Linked DNA regions of Homo sapiens: regions 2, 3, 4, 5 and 6 are each linked to region 1. The links are contacts of gene promoters, found by promoter capture Hi-C in blood cells and fetal thymus (Javierre and others, 2016). All regions are on one chromosome and are shown on one strand. Each heading gives the region's core, a stretch centred on a gene start or on the middle of the fragment in contact. The rest is flanking DNA. Distances are from core to core; before and after follow the strand shown.

Region 1 (3,266 bases), core at 329-2,828:
TCTTTGAAGATGCAGATGGCCTTAAAGAACTGAAAGAGGCTCAGGCTGACAAACAGTAAGGATATAGAAATGTCAGTGTGAATTCTACCAACAATCTGAAATAGCCTGGAGGTGGATTCTCCCCTAGAGCCTCCAGAAAAGAATCCAAATCTACAGAAACCTTGGTTTCGGTTTTGTGAAATTCTAAGCCAAGTACTCAGCTAAGCCCACCCAAACTTCACATTTACAGAAGCTATGAGATAATACATTTGTGTTGTTTTAATTGTTGCATTTGTGTAATTGGTTAAGGCAGCAATAGAAGACTAGTACACACATACAGAGAAGATAAGCTATTCTGTTTACCTCTGTGCCACTTAATAGACTCTAGAAAACTGGAAGCAAGAGTATTAGTTACATACCCACTATAGTGCTTAACCCACCAACCGGTACACATTAAAAATATAAATTATTGGATTCTTTCTTGAAGAGTTTTCTTGAATTCTCAACCACAAAGATTAAGTTAAATAAGATGGTTCCAATAGCACTAAGAAAATGATTATGCTAGATTTAATTAGAATTGACTTTCTGGGGGCAATTAGATATGAATTCACAGAAAGTGGAAAAGAACCACGAACAATACGTGAAGGAATTGTCACATACCAGTACACCAAGAAGATGAACTGCTTGAGACTGCCAGGAGCCTGCTGCAACAATTGTTTTGAGATCACAGGGAACTGGACTAAGTCGGTGACTGTGGGAAGAAAGAAACAAGCTTAACAAATATTTAAGAGGGAAAAAGAAATGAACAAGCTAGTGAAAGAAGGTGGAATGCAGACAAACTAGGAGTTGGGAGTTCCCAAGACAAACTTTTCGTGAATCACTGCAAACACACGCAAATAGTCCACCTGCTAGAGAGCAGGAGTAAATGATCATACAATTAAGTAGGTTTCAGACAAGTACACCTTCCATTAGACGGGTTCAAAGGGTAGAGGATACGTTTTCAGTGGCTGGGTAACAGGTTCGTCGCAGAGTGGCAAGGGGTAGAAGCAGGAGCAGAGGGCAATGAGAGCTCGGAGGCTCTTCCCACCAACCCAAGAGCAACTCTGCACTCAAGAGGCCATCAAGTGAGAGAAATCTAAGCACTACAACGGAGCAGCCCCGCGGCCCAACCTTGAGGGTACCCCTGAGACCCCAGCAGGCGAGATGCTTGATGACACTACTCCCCCACCAAATCCAGGCACCTTTGCGGTTCTGCACGACTTAACTTTCCCCCGCCCCCGAGTTGAAGGATTAGGGGAGGGAGGGAATGCTGCTTCAACGGACCTGTCCGTCCTCACCGCCCGCGCCTCGCCGCCTCTGCCGCAGCCTCAGCCTGCAGCAGCACCGGCTCGCTCCCCCTTGGGCCTCAAAGGTGCGGGAATTGGACTGAAGGCCGCTAGGGTCCCGCCCCGCATTCGCCGGGGAACAGGATTGGATAGAAAGCCGCGAGGGTCCCGCCCCTCACTTTCCGGGGAACGGGACTGGACGGACAGCTGCAAGGGTCCCGCCCCGTGCCTGACGTCGGGGGCGAGCCGGGCCTGCGCGGTAGTGGGACCCGACCCTGTCTCCAGTGGGCGTCTTGGGCCCCGGCTCTATTCTGGGCTGCGGGCCTGGGAAGGGCTCGCCGGGTGCCAAATGAGCTGTCCTAACTCTGCGGGGCTGCAGCTTCCTGCATGATGCTGGGGAGCTTGGCGCCTGACCCAGGATCTAGAAGGCACTCTGGGCAGGCCGCGCTCCGCCCACGAAGGTACCCAACCCTCTGGGATAGATGCAGGAAGCGATGGTTAAGACCCATTTTCACCCAACTTCTCGCCGCAGGTCTGGCTTACCACACGCTCCTCCCCATTCCCAGTGAGCCGCTTTTTGCAGCACCAGGCGAACACTTACACCAGTGCTTTGTAAAGGAATCTTATTGTCCACCCCGTGTCTTGGCAAAAGAACAGTGATCACACAGATTCCTACTTGGGCTCTTTCCTTTAATCTTCGGAGGCTGAGTTTGCCCAACTCAGGTATGCCGCAGCACACTACATCATCTCGGGTCTCCTTGCTCTTCTGCAGCTCTTCATTGCTACCCAAGTTATTTGAATACCCCAGGGATGCTTACCCCCGGGCCTATCTGATGTCTTTTACTGTTGTGCCAAGAAATGGAATCTTTAACCAGAGTGGAGCTACCCAAGTTCTAGAAGATCATAATGTGATTGACTTAGTTTCACAGATTAATTCATTTTGCTTTTACCTTCTGAAATAAAATATACTGTTTCATTTTTAATTTTAAATACACTGTTTCATTTTTTTGTGGAAGGAAAGACCAAATGTTTACACTGACTCTGAACTAGTTATCAAAGATAAAGATTTAGATTTCAAATTAACATGTCATGACAGGCCCCATTCCTTTGTCTGTCGTTTCTAACTCCTTTAGCAGTAAAGTTTGACCTGAAGGGAAGTGAGGCTATGTGTAACTGAATGTTCCCTTTGTGTAAATATTCATAAGTTTTCTACAGAAATATTGTGTTTGATTACAGTACAGCTTGCTGGAAGTGTTTCATAATATATGGCAGACGTACTATTCTAAGAAAAGTTCTGAATTTTGAAACATATCTAGCCAAAAAGATTTTAAATAAGGGATTAGGAATTTGTAGTTGTAATTTCTGAAGGTGTGATAAAGAACTTTTTCTTTCATATATAAGTGCGATGCTCTGGATGATGTTAAAGTTTGCTTACAAGATAAAGTTTTTAAATTGAGTAACTAAAAACTACTCAGAAACCTTCGTTGTATTTTTTTTCTCCTTTTTAGTGAGTCTTGGCATCTCTTTAAAAGTTTATGCATGTTTAATGCCTGTTGGTGCATAGAATTTAGAACCATTTCGCTTCACTCTTTTTCCTACTCTTGTTGTTTATTTCAATGGAAACAAGATGTTTCTGTAAAGATTCCTGAATTATCGGATAGACAAAAAGGTGTGGGAGTGAAAAAATGAATGGAACACAGATTTGAGTATGTAGAAAAAAATCTTTTAAAATATGTTATACTGATAAGCATATGTACCCCAAATCACCAAAAACAGGTATTTTAAAATATGTTTGGCTTCAAAATGTGTGATATATATTTTAATGAAAGATTCCAAATTATGTTGCATTCAGGTTAAACTTGAACGAGTTTGCATTTCTTAGAGTGGAGCGGGAGATATTGGCTGGTAAGGAAGATGTTTTAGGCACTTGAAGTATTTGTGATAGCAAGAAGTTGTTCCAAG
Region 2 (3,266 bases), core at 384-2,883, 860 kb before region 1:
GCTGGGTCACTTAAGCAGGTTTCTTAATTGCTGTGACACTATATGAATAAAGAAGATATAGTAGTAATGCCTTTTTCACTGAGCCATTGTAAGATTTCTATTAGAAATGCCCTTGAAAAACACTATGCAGATATACTATCTGCTTTTGTCTTCTGTAAACAAATCATGTCAGTCACTGAGAATAGATAACAGCTCAATAGTTTTGCATACCTATGTTCTTCATTGAGGGCATAAGGCAGGCAACAACTTAAATCACAATTTTTTTTTTTTTTTTGAGATGGAGTCTCGCTCTGTTGCCCAGGTTGGAGTGCAGTGGCGCAATGTCAGCTCACTGCAACCTCCACGTCTCGGGTTCTAGCGATTCTCCTGCCTCAGCCTCCTGAGGGACTATAGGCATGTGCCACCATACCTGGTTAAGTTTTTTTGTATTTTTAGTAGAGACGGGGTTTCACTGTGTTAGCCAGGATGGTCTCGATCTCCTGTCCTTGTGATCTGTCCGCTTAGGCCTCCCAAAGTGCTGGGATTACAGGCGTGAGCCACTGCTCCCGGCTAAATCACAATTTAAAACAAGTTATTTACTAAACAGCCAAACTAAACAAGGGTAGGGTAAGGCCATGTAATCAGTGTGAACATAACCTAGTGCCATCTTTGATGGCATTAGCTGGATGTATATAACAAAGCTAGAGAGATTGGTTACTTGTTTCTTCAGTTTTTGCTCAGCCATTGATTTAAAAACAAAAAACAAACAAACAAAAAAACTTGTAGAATTGAAATGACTGTAATCACTGAATATTCCATTCTCCATTACAAAATATAAGATGCATGTATTTTTGGTTTAGCAGCTGCTGCAGTTATAAGTACACTTTTAAAAGCTTAGTATGTGTGTGTGAATATGCTTATTTTACCTGCTTAAGGGTGTGTTCTCTTTAACATGCGTTAACTTCTTAGTTGACAGTCCCCTTGCTGTTTCTAAAGATCAGAAGGCTGCCTGGGGAATGGAAAGAAAGACCATGGGCTTTGACTTCAGATGGGGCTACTTAAAAGATTTCTAAACATCCTGATCCTTATTTTCCTTTTCTCTAAAATAGGGATAATCACCTTGACCTTGCAATAGAGCTGCAAGGGTTAGCAGTGCACAATACCTTAGTAGTGTAGGGAACACTGATAGAGCAGAATCTATTGCTTTATGTTTAGCGGGGAAGCCAACATTTCACAGCAAATACTGGTATTTCTAATCTCAGGTATCTGAAGGGTTAGCTGTTCTGTTTCTGTGCATACATACACTTGCATGCTACAATTTGTTTTAATAAAGCAGATTTTAAGGCAATAAACTGTTTAAGGTGTTCCATTAGAGTAATGGGGTAATACTGTGTGGTTTGGAAATCCCCACGTAATACAACAGTATAAACTCCAGTTGTTTGTGTTTGTGGTAAGTGTCTTTGACCACGGCCATTTCTAGTCTTGGATATTATTTGGAATTTAAATAATTATTCAAATAATTATTTAAATTATTTATCCATTGAAGTTATATCTGCTTTCTCTAAGAAGTTTTGATGTGAGAAACCCTGTGGATTTTATATTAGACTGCTTCCCTAAAAAAAGGAAACTTTTCCATCTATCATTTACTCATATCTTAGAAAGTTGTAGGGGTTGTTTTACCCGTGTTCAAATTAGAAAACCAAATGTAAGCTGCCAGAAATAGGCTGTGCCGTATAAGTGCTTTGAGGTCTGTCATATAATGCTGATTTTTCTTTCAGTTCATTCAATGTGTCATGAGTGTTTAAATCAAGAGGAAGCTGCATGAATGTAATCAACATTCCAACTGGAGCTCTCCTTTGCTTGTCCTCTTTGCCTTCGGTAATATGTATAAACTTACATCACGACTTTCTCTTAACAGCTGTTGTAAAGTTTATTACTTTATGTACAACTGAAGTTTTGTTTTAGTTTTGATAATAAATTCTTTGGAACTTTAATAAGATCTAGTCTGTTACACCATTTAGAACTTTCCTGAGCCATTATCAGTCATGCCTTATTTTCTTGCTAAAACTCTATGTAAATTTAAGTATGCAAAATGTTTAAGTCACATTATTTATTTTTCATTGTGAGACACTAAAAACTGTTAATCAGACTACAGCTGTTATCTTTCCTCTCCTACAAAGAATACTCCACACATAAAAACTTAGGTAAATGACATAGACGCACTTGGGTGAAATAAAACAACAAAAAAGGTAATCCAGTAATCCACGTCAGGATTCACCTTAGAAGTTTAGCACACGCCCTTCAAAACCTGTTGAATAATTTGATTGGCAAATACTATCTGTCACCAAGTCCCTTTTTGTCATCTATTTAAACCTTTGTTAACTCTCCTTAAAAATCTTGTACATTATAAGCTTAACTATATAAAAAGAAAATTGATAGAAAAAGACTAAGGGAATATATGGAAATATTAACAATGTTTATTTTGGATGAATGGAATTCTAGATGACTTTAATTTTCTTTATATCAGTATTTTTCAGATTTTCTATATGCTTTCCTTTTAAAATCAGATTTTAGTTTTTAAAATACTGATACATCCATTTTGATATACCATGTATTCACACTTTAAAAAATACACATAGCAGAGTATCGGAAAGTATGTACCAAAACATTGATCTGGCTACCACTGGGAGTCAGGATCATGAGTTCATCTTCTTCCTTCTTACTGCTTTTCCAAACATTCTCCAGTAAGCAGGTACTACATTTATAATGGAAGGAATTTTTTAAAAAATTTTAAGCTGTACACTTTCAAGTAAGATCTGAATTCTAATGCTGGCTTGTGCCTCTTACTATGTGGTTTGGTCATTATAGATAATGCCCAGTTTCAGTTTCCCCATCTTTGAAAAGGAGATAATATGTTATCTCTTGGGAGTAGTTCTGAATATGAAGTGTGTTGATACAAGAAGCACTGACAATGTTTCTGTTTCTTAAATTTAAAACTGGCCTGGTTTGCCTTTTTTATCAAGAGAGCTTAACAGATAAAAAATGAAATTAGTCTATTTTCTACTTGCCAGCAGAGTATCTGTCTTATTTTAGGATGCAGTGTGAAACTTACCATTCAACTGAACAACTAGTTGTCAACTAATGAAAATAAAACATTTTCTCTAAGCATCTTTAGCCTCATTTCACTATTAATTTTTTAAAATATTGTTAAAATATATATTATTCAAACCTAACATATAACTATGGCAAGTTAGTTAGCCCAGGTTACATATCAGAATGTGAAGCAG
Region 3 (3,266 bases), core at 438-2,937, 590 kb before region 1:
GCCTCCGCTGGCCTCTGTGATCACCTCCAGAAAATCACAAGGCAAAGTATAACTGTTTATTCACCCACTCATCTTCCACGTCTTTAAGAATTCCTTAAAAGAAAACTGTGTCTTTTATCTCTAAATGCCCACAGTCTTGCATAAAAATTGGTACAGAGTAGGAGCACAAATAAATAAATGCCTTTTAGGCCAGCCGCGGTGGTTCACGCCTGTAATCCCAGCACTTTGGGATGCCAAGGTGGGCGGATCACAAGGTCAGGAGATTGAGACCATCCTGGCTAACATGGTGAAACCCTGTCTCTACTAAAAATACAAAAAATTAGCCAGGTGTGGTGGCACGCGCCTGTAGTCCCAGCTACTTGGGAGGCTGAGGCAGGAGAATCGCTTGAACCAGGGAGGTGGACCTTGCCATGAGTTGAGATTGTGCCGCTGCACTCCATCCAGCCTGGGCAAGAGAGTGAGACTCCATCTCAAAAGAAAAAAATAAATAAAATAAATAAATAAATGCCTTTTAAAGAAACAAATCAACAAATCTATATAAGCTTTTTGAGTTCACAGAAAATCACCCTGATTTTATTTATGAAGTAGAAAGGAAGTTGATAAACATATCTATGGGTGGCCAGGCATGGTGGCTCATGTTTGTAATCCCAGCACTTTGGGTGGCCGAGGTGGGAGGATCACTTGAGGTCAGGAGTTCTAGACCAGCCTGGCCAAAATGGTGAAACCCTGTCTCTACTAAGAATACAAAAATTAGCTGGGCATGGTGGTGGGTGCCTGTAATCCCAGTTATTCAGGTGGCTGAGACAGGAATATCGCTTGAACCCAGGAGGTGGAGGTTGCAATAAGCTGAGATCACGCCATTGCACTCCAGCCTGGGTGACAGAGCAAGACTCCATCTCACAAAAAAAAAAAAAAAAAAAAAAAAAAATCTATGGGTATCTAAAATTAAAATGCCATAAATTAGAACTATTTAAGTATTAGAGAAATAACAAGGGCCATAAAAAATCAACTTATGTTTTTCAATCCAATGATTGCTCTTAGGGAAACTAGAAATGCCAATAGTGCAAGAAAACTCCTCTGTTTCCTAACTGTAGGAAAAGTTGGCCTAAGATAAACAGGTCTTTAAAATTTTGTCAGATTTGGTCCTAGTTGTCAATGATTTCCACCTGTAGTTTAAGCAGCATGGTAAAGTGCAGTGGCTCCCAAGTGATAGAGACATCAACATGTACTATGTGTACCTTACTATGTACACATATCCCAGGCACTGGGATAACGTTTTGTAATAATTACTATAAGATGGTATCATTGCTTTCATTTCTGACTTGAATTAATCATCTATTCATACTTTTAAACCTAAATCCTACCAATTCATTCATACTTCACCAAAAACCAGTCATTCTTCTCTATTGTGATGTTTATTGCTATAGGGAGTAGAAGCTCTATGAACCCAAAATAGCTTTCCACCCCAAGTCAAGACTCCTGTGAATCAAAAAACTGCACAAGTGGTGCTCCATAAATGGGGAGAAAAGGAGGACTGACCTCCTCCACTTTTCAAAAGTGGTGGTCTTTCACCAACACAGAAAAGGCAAGAGGTACCCAAAGACATTTCCAGCATGAGTCAGAGATTCTGTGAGTTTCCAGGTTCAATCCTGTCATTTTCTTTTTCTGTATCTCTTCTTCCCTCAGTCTCTCTTCCTCTCCTAGAAAGTCTTTGTGAATTGTTTTAAAGCACTGGCTACAACAGCAAAATCTTGACTCTGAGCAACTCTACAAGATGAAAGACTCCATGTCTTCACTGAAAAAATTGCAAGGGGAAAAAAAAGAAATAGAGGGGAAAGAACCACACATTAAAAGACCTTTTAGAAAACAGAAAAACAGGCTAGGCCCCCACAACTCACACCTGTAATCCCAGCATTTTGGGAGGCCGAGGCCAGCAGATGATTTGAGCCCAGGAGTTCAAGGCCAGCCTGCGCAACATGGTGAAATCCCATCTTTACAAAAACAAATTTTTAATTAGCCAGATAAGGTGGCACATGCCTGTAATCCAAGCTACTCAGGAAGCTGAGGTGGAAGGATCACTGGGGCCCAAGAGGTCAAGGCTGCTGTGAGCCATAATCGTGCTACTGCACTCCTGTCTGGGTGACAGAGTGAGACCCTGTCACAAAAAATAAATAAATAAACTAATTGCAATCTACAGACATTATCTGGGTCCTGGTCCAGACAAACTTACTTAAATATATACTCTAAATATACTCTCTCTCTCTATATATATATATATAATATATATACACACACATATAAACATTCACACACATACATATACATATATACATACATATTTACGAGAACTGGAAATTTGAAAAACAGGATATTTGATAGTAGTAAGAAATTACTCCTAATTTTTGAAAATACAGTAACATGGTTGCATTTTTAAAAGAATCCTTACTGTTTAGTGGTAAATTCCTATAATTTTTATGAATGAAATGATATGATTTGCTTCAATACAATATAGAGAGGGAAAGGAAATAGAAAAAGAAATACGTAGGGTATAGACAAAACAAGATTGGCCATGAGTTGCTAATTGTTGGAGCTGGGGGTTCATTAATTTATCCTACTCTTTTGTGTTTGAAATTTTTTATAATAAAAGGTTGCAAATGGTGTGAAAATATCCTTCCACAGAAATAATCTTAATTAATTGAAAAATACGATGACATAGGGAAACTATGGCCCCTGCTTCTTCAGTTTTACCATTGAAACGAGTCAAAATGGAAAAGGAAAATAGGCATTTACCAACCATTAATTCACATAAAAGAATCCATCATTAAAAGCTTAACATATTGGGATTTTCTACTAAAATAATCTTTGATGGATATTATGTAGCCCTTTAAGCTAATTTCCCACCTTCTATTAACAAAATGTTAACAGTACCAACTACTTGGCTACAAATACAGATTTAAGTAATATTTTCTATTTTTACATATTTCACACATACAGATAAGTTAGTATAATTATCACATCATCAAGATATATCTTAAAGCACTGATGAATATATTTATACATGTGAAAAGGTTTGGCTTGCCATTGCTTCAGTAAAGTTTACAAAAATTTTCAAGTACATGAACAAGTCCTATCTTAATATGGACTTACAGGTGGGTGAACTGCCTGATCAGCTGATGTGTAGAAATAAAAAAATACACAGCCCCAGAAGTATTTACTTAAATTTGTCAATAAATTCACAGTAATTTTCAGGCATATCTGTGAATGTG
Region 4 (3,266 bases), core at 277-2,776, 570 kb before region 1:
GTTTCTCTGGCAATGGGCAGGGCCATAAAGCTTCCACAAGTTTTTGTCTTTTGTGTGTGGCTACCAGGGCAGGTAGAGAAATATCATCAGGTGGAGGCAGGGTTAGGCGGGTCTGAGCTCAGACTCTCCTTAGGTGGTGCTTGCCATGGCCACTGTGGGGATGGGGGTGTGGTTCTCAGACCGATGGGGTTATGTTCCAGAGGAGATTATGGCTGCCTCGGCTGTGCCATATGGTTCACCAGGGAAGTAGGGGATAGCCAGTAGCAAAAGACCTCACCCAACTCTCACGTTGTTGGCAAGGCTGGTCTTGCCTCTGCGGTGTCCTGCTAACAGGGCCAAGTTTAGTTAGATGCAGGAAGCCTGTGCATGGAACTCAGCCCTTTCCCCATGCTGTAAGCTTCCCAGGTGAGAAAGCAAACTTGACTTTTAGGCCTTGCTCCTCTCCGTCTGCTCACAATGTTGGTGAAGCCTCCTGCACTTGTATCTGCAGCAGTTCCCCATTCACCCCCCGGATTCTGTTCAAGATAGTTCATACCCATTTGAAATTATTACAGAATTTCACTGGAAGCATCTTTCACCCTATGACCCCTCCCTAATTTTGCTGTCTTCCTTGCCTGAGGGCCCCTGCAAAATCCAGTTAGGGATAGTTTCCGTGGGCTCAAGCTGGAGACTGGGTGTGCCTATAAGGCTCTTGCTGCTGCTTCTACTTTTATATTTTACACAGCTCTCTAAATGTGTTTCAGCTCTAGATAAGGTTAAATCTTTCTTCCGTAATCTGGATTTTCATATTCGCCAGTAGGGATATGTGTTCGGAGGCAGGTTTTCCCCTCTCACACTTTGGGAACTCAGTTTTTTGCCTGTCTCGCAGAATTTGCAGTGGCATCAGTTGGGCAATTCAAAAATGAAATTGCAATATAAGAGGCTGAAGGTTAATGTTCTTCCCTAATTAATGTCACTGAGTCTCTTCCTTCTCCTGAAAATATGAAGTTTTCATTGTTTAAAAAATGTTCTTAGAAACTTAAAAAAATCCTATTTGAAATATGAATGTATATTCTGGCCAGAAAGAATGAATGCATATAAATGTGTTTGTATAAAAAGCTAAAATGTTATGGCCTTTATAATTTCTAAGCCAGCAAAACAAATTAAATTATGTTTGTAACAAATAAGTTTTTAAGTATAATCTTGCACATAAAAGATACTTTTTATTTTCTGTATTGCTAAGAACTAGCAGCAATCCATAAATATACTAAGATATGATAATGGTAAAAAGCAAAGATGCTGAAAAGATAACATGTTTAAAGGAAATACAGTTTCTCTGAGATGTGTGTGGGGGTGGGGGTTGAGAATAGGGAAATAGTTTCCTTGGAGTATGTTTGAAGTAGTGTCCTACAGGCCACGTCTTGCCTATTTCATGTATAGATCTTTATCTCTTGTCATGCATTGCTTAATGATGGGGATACATTCTGAGGAATATACCCTTAGGCAACATCATTAATGTAACAATATCATAGAGTGTACTTACACAAACCTAGATGGTATAGCCTACTACACACCTAGGCTACATGGTATAGCCTATTGCTCCTAGGCTGTAAACCTGTTTATCATGTTATTGTACTGAATACTGTAGGCAGTTATAATACATTGGTAAATATTTATGTATCTAAACATAGAAATGGTACAGTAAAAATACAATGTGAAAGATAAAAAATGGTACACCTATATAGGGTACTTACTATGAATGGAGGTTACAGGACTCAAAGTTGCTCTGGGTGAGTCAGTGAGTGAGTGGTGAGTGAATGTGAAGGCCTAGGACATTATTATGTACTACTGTAGACTTTATAAACACTGTACACTTAGGCTGCACTAAACATTAAAAATTTAAGTAATTGTGCTACAAAATTATGGCAGCTATGATGTCAGTAGATGATAGGAATTTTTCAGCTCTATTATAATTTTATGGGATTACCATCATATATGTGGTTCATCATTGAGTGAAACATCATTATGCGGCACATGGCTGTATTTCTATACAATTGAATTAAACTACAAATCAATAACAGAATGATAGCTGGAAAACCTCAAAAATACTTGGATATTATCAACACACTTTTAATTAACATATGGGTTAGAGAAGAAATCTCAAGAGAAATGTTAAAATATTTTGAACTAAATCAAAATGAAAATACAACTTACCAGAATTTTGGAGGTGCAGTGAGTACTTAGAGGGAAATGTATAGCATTGAATGCATATATTAGAAAACAATAAATATTTAAAATAAATAATATGTGTTTACCTTAGGGAACTAGAAAAAGAAGGGCAAATTAAATTCCAAGTAAGCAGCAGAAAAAAATAACCAAAATTAGAACAGAAATCAATTAAATTGAAAATAGGAAATCAAAAGAGAAAATCAATAAAACCAACAACTAGTTTTGGAAAATATCAATAAAATTGCCAAACTTCCAGCCACGTCAACAAAGAAAAGAAAGAGAAGACACAAATTATTAATATCAGAAATGAAAGACAAGCTATGACTATTGATCCCATTGACTTTAAAAGGATAATAAAGAACTATCATAAACAACATTAAGTCTCCAAATTTGATAACCTAGCTGAAATGGACTGATTCCTTGAAAGACATACTATACCAAAGCTTACACAAGGAGAAATAGATAATCGAAATAGGCCTATGTCTATTAAATAAATTGAATCAGGCCGGGCACAGTGGTTCATGCCTGTAATACCAGCACTTTGGGAGGCTGAAACAGGAAGATCACTTGAGGTCAGGAGTTTGAGATCAGCCTGGCCAATATGGTGAAACCCTTTCTCTACTAAAAATACAAAAATTAGCCATGCATGGCGATGGGCACCTGTAATCCCAGCTACTTGGGAGGCTGAGGCAGGAGAATCACTTGAACCCGGGAGACGGAGGTTGCAGTGAGCCGAGATCATGCCACTGGACTCCAGCCTGGGCGACAAGAGTGAAACTCCGTCTCAAAAAGTAAATAAATAAATAAATAATTTATAACTTTCCAAAACGAAAAGCACCAGGCCCAGGTTGTTTCACTAGTGAATTCTACCAATATTTTTAAGAATAAATTATACCAAATTCTTTGTAACCTCTTCCAGGAAATAGAAGCCAAGAGAATATATCCTAACTCATTCTATGTGACCAGCATTACCCTAACACCAAAAACAGAGGAAAACTACAGACAATATGTCTCATCAACATAGATGCAAACTCTTCAATGACATATTAGCAAATTGT
Region 5 (3,266 bases), core at 353-2,852, 550 kb before region 1:
AGGAGTCTAATGCCATTCTTTTGCATGTGTATATCTAGTTTTCTCAACACTGTTAAAAAAGACTGTCCTTTCTCCATTAAATTATCTTCATACCCTTGTTGAAAATCATTTGGCCATATGTGTGATGGTTTATTTCTAGGCTCTCTATTCTATTCCATTCGTTTATATGTCTTTATTCCAATGCCAAATTGTTCTGATTTCTGTAGCATTACAGTAAGTTTTAAAACCAGAAAGTGTGAGACCTCTTACTTTGTTGTTCTTTTTTTTTTTTTTTTTTGAGACGGAGTCTTGCTCTGTCCCCCAGGCTGAAGTGTAGTGGCGTGATCTCGGCTCACTGCAAGCTCTGCCTCCCGGGTTCACGCCATTCTCCTGCCTCAGCCTCCTGAGTAGCTGGGACTACAGGTGCCCGCCACCAGGCCCGGCTAATTTTTTATATTTTTAGTAGAGACAGGGTTTCACCGTATTAGCCAGGATGGTCTCCATCTCCTGAACTCGTGATCTGCCTGCCTCGGCCTCCCAAAGTGCTAGGATTACAGGAGTGAGCCACCGCGCCTGGCCTTTGTTGTTATTTTTAATGATTGTCTTGGGTTTCCTGCATCTGTTACAATTCCGTATGAATTCTAGGATACGTTTTTACTATTTCTGCAAAAAACATCATTGGGATTTTGATAGGGATTGCAGTGAATCTGTAGATCACTTTGGGTGGTATTAACATCTTAACAATATTATATCTTCCAATTCATGAACATGGGATGTCCTTTCGTATACTAGTGTCTTTTCTAGGCCTCCTTTTGAATTGCACTTTTTTCTTCACAGCAACACATTTCATAAAAAGCAGTTTTCAATACACTTTTGTCGCCTCAGTGTGAGTACCCAAGAGAATTAACCACAGATGTCTAAATGAATAAGTGGAAAGAAAAAAGAAAGTAATCTAATTCTCTCATGGCAGGCCTATTTATATCTGTGGTCTTCATTAAGATTATCCCACATGGCTGGGCACAGTGGCTCACGCCTGTAATCCCCGCACTTTGGGAGGCTGAGGCAGGCGGATCACTTGAGGTCAAGAGTTAGAGACTAGCCTGGCCAACATGGTGAAACCCCATCTCTACTAAAAATACAAACATCAGCTGGGCATGGTGGCGTAGACCCATAATCCCAGCTACTTGGGAGGCTGAGGCAGGAGAATTGCTTGAACCGGGGGTGGGGTGGACGTTGCAGTGAGCCGAGATCGTGCCACTGCACTCTAGCCTGGGTGACAGAGCAAGACTCCATCTCAAAAAATCAAAACAAACAACAACAACAACAAGACTATCCTACAATACTTCAGAATTTTGGAAATCAACCATGTTAGATGTTATACTTAGATTTTCTGTTTCTAAATAGCATCTAATAATTTCTTTTTCGCAAATGAAGGCGTAATCTTTCAGTAGTTCTAAATCATTTGGTACTGCATTTAGCCAGAGAATAATTTAAATACTAAAAAAACGGTGTCATGATTTTTCTAAACCAGCTATTTCAGGAATATCTACAACATACTGAAACTAAATTCAGTCCTTGAGCACAAATGAATTAATGCTACTTTCGTTAACTTGTGCCGCATGCACATTAGTATAATATAAATCAAACACAAAGGAACCTAACAGTACTAATCGAGCTAGCCTAATTAGTTAGGTGATTTTCCTCTTTAGTATTGCACTTAAATCATACAGATTGGACTTAAATACTTACTGGCTCATATCTTCCACCTTTACAAAAGGCTTTTTGAGTCTTCCTGCTTGAGAACATAGAAAACATATTAGATACTTGCAAATTCAGGATTCTTTTTTTTTTTTAATAAAACTACTGTGGCAAAACAAAACCCTCCAAACAAAAAACTATGTATCCACTTTAAAGTTTTAAGCCTCAGATGAGGTACTTCCATTATCACCTCATTTCCAAAAATAACAGAAGCTCTCTCCTATATTCTGAGATTCTTAAACTAAATGGAACCCTCAAATTAACAGGATTCAGGAAGGTCATAAATTAGAACAGGAGAAAAACTACACTATTGTCTTCACTAACCTCAAACTGAAATTTAGCATTTCCTTCAATTATAAATGTAACAAATCACACTATTCGCAGTACCTGCGACTTTGATGCTAATAGAAACTGCACATATTTTCATCAGTTATGAACTGCTTGAGCAGATATCTCAAAGCATTGTTTACGCTTATCAATTCAAAATGAAGTGGCAATTAGATTCACTGCTAGAATCTGTTCTGTGTAATAAAAAGCAAGTTATCACTATTTCACAATTAAAAACTATTTTGGTAACTACATTTTAATATAATTCATTTTCTTGGTAGACTAATGATTTTTAAAGGAAACGTTTTAAAAAAAACATCATTCTGAAAATGCGGTCCACAGGCTTCACCAAACTTCACCAAGGATCTATGTTCTATAAAGACGAAGAAAGCCTTGAATAAATCATTTAGAGGGTGGTTTATATGATTTTAGAAGATCTTTTATGATTTTTCAAATGCAAACCAAATACACTTAAAGATCACAAAATACTTACTTCTTGTTTTTTGTGCACCACTACCAACTCTTTTGCCCTAAAAAAAAATATATAGTGAAAAGATTGGCTTTGAAAGTACAGTTAAAACAGCAACTGCAATTGCTCAGTATCTTCAAGATAAAAAAATCATGCAGAAAAGTGCTATATCAAAGAAGGATTATTCTTTGTTAAAAAAAACTATTGTTTTTAAATGTTTTACAATACACTCAGCAAGTACCTTGCATTCTAGCTATAATTGATTTTGACTTCATAAAAAGAAAACCAATAATGAAAAGGTAGTTAATGAAATGTTTTTTTAAAAGTCATATTATTTTTATGCCCTTATTCAGCAAAATCTTTGTATTAAATTGAATAAAGAAATTAGTCAACATTTATTAGTCAGTCAATTTAGGCAAAGATTCAATATGTTAAAGATGGATAATCAACTCCACTGATTACAACTAGAAACTCTGGACAACACTGAATAAGCAACTACCTGAAGAATGAAAAGTAAAATAAGCAGGCAGATTGTGGAAGGAAGTCAAAACTGGAACCTTCAGTCATGGAGTTAGCAGCAGTGGCAGAGCCAGCAGCTAAAACTCCTATCTTTCTGGCAGGAAGAACCAGGAATGAGGTTCAAGTGGCCAAAAATACCAAGAGAATCCCTGTATTATTTTCTTTTCTCCCACAGTTCTGCCCTGAGGGTGGGTCCCAATTAGGAGGCTGAGAT
Region 6 (3,266 bases), core at 535-3,034, 510 kb before region 1:
GGCTCATTGCAACTTCTGCCTCCTGGGTTAAAGGGATTCTCATGCCTCAGTCCCCCACGGAACTGGGACTACAGGTTTGCGCCACCATGCCCTGCTAATTTTTTGTATTTTTAGTAGAGACTGGATTTCACCATGTTGGCCAGGCTGGTCTCAAACTCCTGACCTCAGGTAATCCACCTGCCTTGGCCTCCCAAAGTGCTAGGATTACAGGTGTGAGCCACCACACCTGGCCCTGTATCAAGTTTTAAAATAGCTTATCCCATCAATCTTACTATCTTTCCTACAGTAATTGTAGGAAGGTTACAAAAATATATATATGTATGTATAAGAATGTTATAGCAGAATATTTTATAGTTTGGAAATTGGCAACAACCTGATATCTAACAATCTGAAACTGATTAAATAAATATAATTAACTACCGTGCAAGCAATAAAAATGTAAATCTGTTTTTATTGACACAATGTCTATAATGTGTTTTTAAGTGTTAAAGCAGCCTACTAAACAAGCAAAATAGTATTGACCTGTTTTTCAGAAAAGCTGTATGTACACGGACACATAAGTGTACGTGTGTTTGATTAATATACAATATTTGGTTAGATGTAATGTGTGTGTATAGACATATACATATGTATGTGTGTATGTTCATAGACATTTGGAAAGATGACATTCCTGTTGCTGGTGATTATTATTATTATTTTTTTTTGAGACAGAGTCTTGCTCTGTTGCCCAGGCTGGAGTGCAGTGGTGCGATCTCGGCTCACTGCAAGCTCCGCCTCCTGGGTTCACGCCATTCTCCTGCCTCAGCCTCCCGAGTAGCTGGGACTACAGACACCTGGCTAATTTTTTGTATTTTTAGTTGAGACAGGATTTCACCATGTTAGCCAGGTTGGTCTCGATCTCCCGACCTCATGATGCGCCCGCCTCGGCCTCCAAAAGTGCTGGGGTTACAGGTGTGAGCCACCACGCCTGGCCGGTGATTATTTTTGAATAGTAAGTTCATAAGTTATTTTTATACTGTTCTGTATTATCTGACTTTTTAAAACTTTTTATGTTTTTATGTTGCTTTTCTCATCAAATTTTTGTAAGATAAAACTTATTAAGGTTATGTGTTTTTATTTTACATCTGTACAACAACTACTGGTATACAATAAAGGGCTGTATTTGCTGATACCTCTGTACTCTATTGGGGAGGTTTTTTTAGTAGTGTGTATGAGGCTGAGTTCACAGACTCAGACTTAGTGGTCACCTGCTTTCATTCTGTCAGTATCTGTTTGGTTAATTCTCTCTTAGTTGTCTTACTAATGTGATGCTGCTCACCCAGCTTAGCTGAAGGATGTTATCATTTTTGAAAGATCAGAGGATGTGCTCTAATTTTATGTTTTCTTTTTAACAGGTTTTTATTTAATTAGTTAAAAATATGGATCCTGAGACAAGGGGACAAGAGATTATCAAAGTGACACCTCTTCAACAAATGCTTGCCTCATGTACTGGAGCTATACTGACATCAGTAATAGGTAAAATTATGTTACTGATGTAGATTATGTAACTTTGAATGAGTCAGTGCTTCCATTTGAGTTTTAGTATCAGTATTTCAACGTAGTTTCTTTCTATTTTCCATAAGTATTGGCTGGCTGAGAAATAAAGAGTACAAAGAGAGGAATTTTACAGCTGGGCCTCCGGGGGTGACATCACATATTGGTAGGACCGTGATTGCCCACCTGAGCTGCAAAACTAGCAAGTTTTATTAAGGATTTCAAAAGGGGAGGGGGTGTAAGAACAGGGAGTAAGGTCACAAGATCACATGCTTCAAAGGGTAAAAAGGAGAACAAAAATCACATGCTTCTGAGGAAACAGGACAAGGGCAAAATCACAGACTCCTGATAAGGGTCCAGCAAAGATCACAAGGCAAAGGGCAAAAGCAGAATTACTGATAAGGGTCTATGTTCAGCAGTGCACGTTTTGTCTTGATAAACATCTTAAACAACAGAAAAGAGGGTTTGAGAGCAGAGATCCAGTCTGACCTCAAATTTACCAGGGTGGAGTTGCCCAATCCTAGTAAGCCTGAGGGTACTGCAGGAGACCAGGGCGTATTTCAGTCTTTATCTCAACGGCATAAGACAGACACTCCCAGAGTGGCCATGTATAGACCTCCCACCAGGAATGCATTCCTTCCCCAGGGTATGAATTATTAATATTCCTTGCTAGGAAAATAATTTAGCAATATCTTCCCTACTTGCATGTCCGTTTATAGGCTATCTGCAAGAAGAAAAATATGGCTCTATTTTGCCCGACCCTGCGGGCAGTCAGACCTTATGGTTGTCTTCCCTTGTTCCCTAAAATCGCTGTTATTCTGTTCTTTTTCAAGGTGCACTTATTTCATATTGTTCAAACATACATGTTTTACAATCAATTTGTACAGTTATCACAATTATCATAGTGGCCCTGATGTGATGTACATCCTTAGCTTATAAAAATAACAGGATTAAGAGATTAAAGTAAGACAGGGGTAAGAAATTATGAAAGTATTATTTGGGAACTGGTAAATGTCCATGAAATCTTCAGAATTTATGTTCCTTTGCTGCGGCTCCACCTGGTCCCTCCATTCAGGATCCCTGACTTCCTGCAACACATACTATCATTTATGATCCATGAATGTTTCATCATATTATTATATGAAAACAACCCTGGACAGAGATTCAAGAGACTTGAGTCCTTGCTTTGCCATTCTCACGGTGAATACACTTGGGAACAGTATCTAACTTTTATTTGAACTTCATTATTTCATCTGTAAATTAGGGGCTTATAACTGGGATTTCTTTTGGGTCCCTATCAACATTAAACTTTTCTGATTCCCCATGTCTATAATAGAAAGCAAGAAGATGGAATAAAATATTAGCATAATGAATAATACAGAATTTTCACAATTTATGTTCGTAACAATTACAAATAATCTTTACTTTGCATTAACGGAATTTCTTAAATTTCTCTGGTTCACAGTTTTCTGTTTCTTACAGTCAGCTTCTTGTAGATGTAGCCAAATGACACAGTTAGGTGATAGTTTAGCATTTTAATGATTTTTAAGTTGGCTAGTTTATGTAAATAACAAATGATTAGAACAAATAAATTAATTGCTTATGATGTATTTTCAGGTCAGAATTTGAGTTATAAAGGTCATAGAGATCATCTAATATAATTATCATCATTCTCAAGATGAGGAAAAGTTTTCTTAGAAACATTATTTGGCATTTGTTTCTACTTGGATAAA

The links. The method cuts DNA at HindIII sites, captures the fragments that hold promoters and counts their contacts. A CHiCAGO score of 5 or more calls a contact.
Region 2: a contact is called between a fragment that was not itself captured here and the fragment with the promoter of TP53TG1 in region 1, in 1 of 17 cell types (total CD8 T cells). The highest score is 6.0, in total CD8 T cells.
Region 3: a fragment that was not itself captured here is called in contact with the fragment with the promoter of TP53TG1 in region 1 in 1 of 17 cell types (non-activated CD4 T cells); the score reaches 5.8 in non-activated CD4 T cells.
Region 4: a fragment that was not itself captured here is called in contact with the fragment with the promoter of TP53TG1 in region 1 in 1 of 17 cell types (non-activated CD4 T cells); the score reaches 5.6 in non-activated CD4 T cells.
Region 5: a fragment that was not itself captured here is called in contact with the fragment with the promoter of TP53TG1 in region 1 in 3 of 17 cell types (neutrophils, endothelial precursors and naive CD4 T cells); the score reaches 7.7 in neutrophils.
Region 6: a contact is called between a fragment that was not itself captured here and the fragment with the promoter of TP53TG1 in region 1, in 3 of 17 cell types (neutrophils, monocytes and activated CD4 T cells). The highest score is 7.3, in neutrophils.

What each region holds. Positions count from the first base shown.
Region 1 is chr7:87,343,804-87,347,069 of GRCh38, reverse strand. TP53TG1 (TP53 target 1) reads left to right here and starts at 1,578. Exons shown (of 3, transcript NR_015381.1): 1 at 1,578-2,027. CROT (carnitine O-octanoyltransferase) reads right to left here and starts at 1,406. Exons shown (of 18, transcript NM_021151.4): 1 at 1,303-1,406; 2 at 640-730. RefSeq lists a silencer at 1,381-1,590. The HindIII fragment of the contact is 3,653 bases long and covers 754-3,266 here.
Region 2 is chr7:88,204,996-88,208,261 of GRCh38, reverse strand. SRI (sorcin) reads left to right here. Exons shown (of 8, transcript NM_003130.4): 8 at 1,758-3,147. The coding sequence ends at 1,784. Among named protein-coding and RNA genes, the nearest start is that of SRI-AS1, 10 kb to the left of the region's middle. The HindIII fragment of the contact is 1,518 bases long and covers 875-2,392 here.
Region 3 is chr7:87,935,870-87,939,135 of GRCh38, reverse strand. All of the region lies in intron 2 of ADAM22 (ADAM metallopeptidase domain 22), which reads right to left. Among named protein-coding and RNA genes, the nearest start is that of ADAM22, 3.3 kb to the right of the region's middle. The HindIII fragment of the contact is 2,286 bases long and covers 545-2,830 here.
Region 4 is chr7:87,917,134-87,920,399 of GRCh38, reverse strand. All of the region lies in intron 1 of LOC124901690 (a long non-coding RNA gene), which reads left to right. Among named protein-coding and RNA genes, the nearest start is that of ADAM22, 15 kb to the left of the region's middle. The HindIII fragment of the contact is 2,254 bases long and covers 400-2,653 here.
Region 5 is chr7:87,895,802-87,899,067 of GRCh38, reverse strand. It overlaps DBF4 (DBF4-CDC7 kinase regulatory subunit), which reads right to left. Exons shown (of 12, transcript NM_006716.4): 7 at 2,558-2,594; 8 at 1,729-1,774. Among named protein-coding and RNA genes, the nearest start is that of DBF4, 21 kb to the right of the region's middle. The HindIII fragment of the contact is 3,367 bases long and covers 1-3,266 here.
Region 6 is chr7:87,856,880-87,860,145 of GRCh38, reverse strand. It overlaps SLC25A40 (solute carrier family 25 member 40), which reads left to right. Exons shown (of 12, transcript NM_018843.4): 3 at 1,395-1,515. The coding sequence starts at 1,419. Among named protein-coding and RNA genes, the nearest start is that of SLC25A40, 18 kb to the left of the region's middle. The HindIII fragment of the contact is 3,788 bases long and covers 1-3,266 here.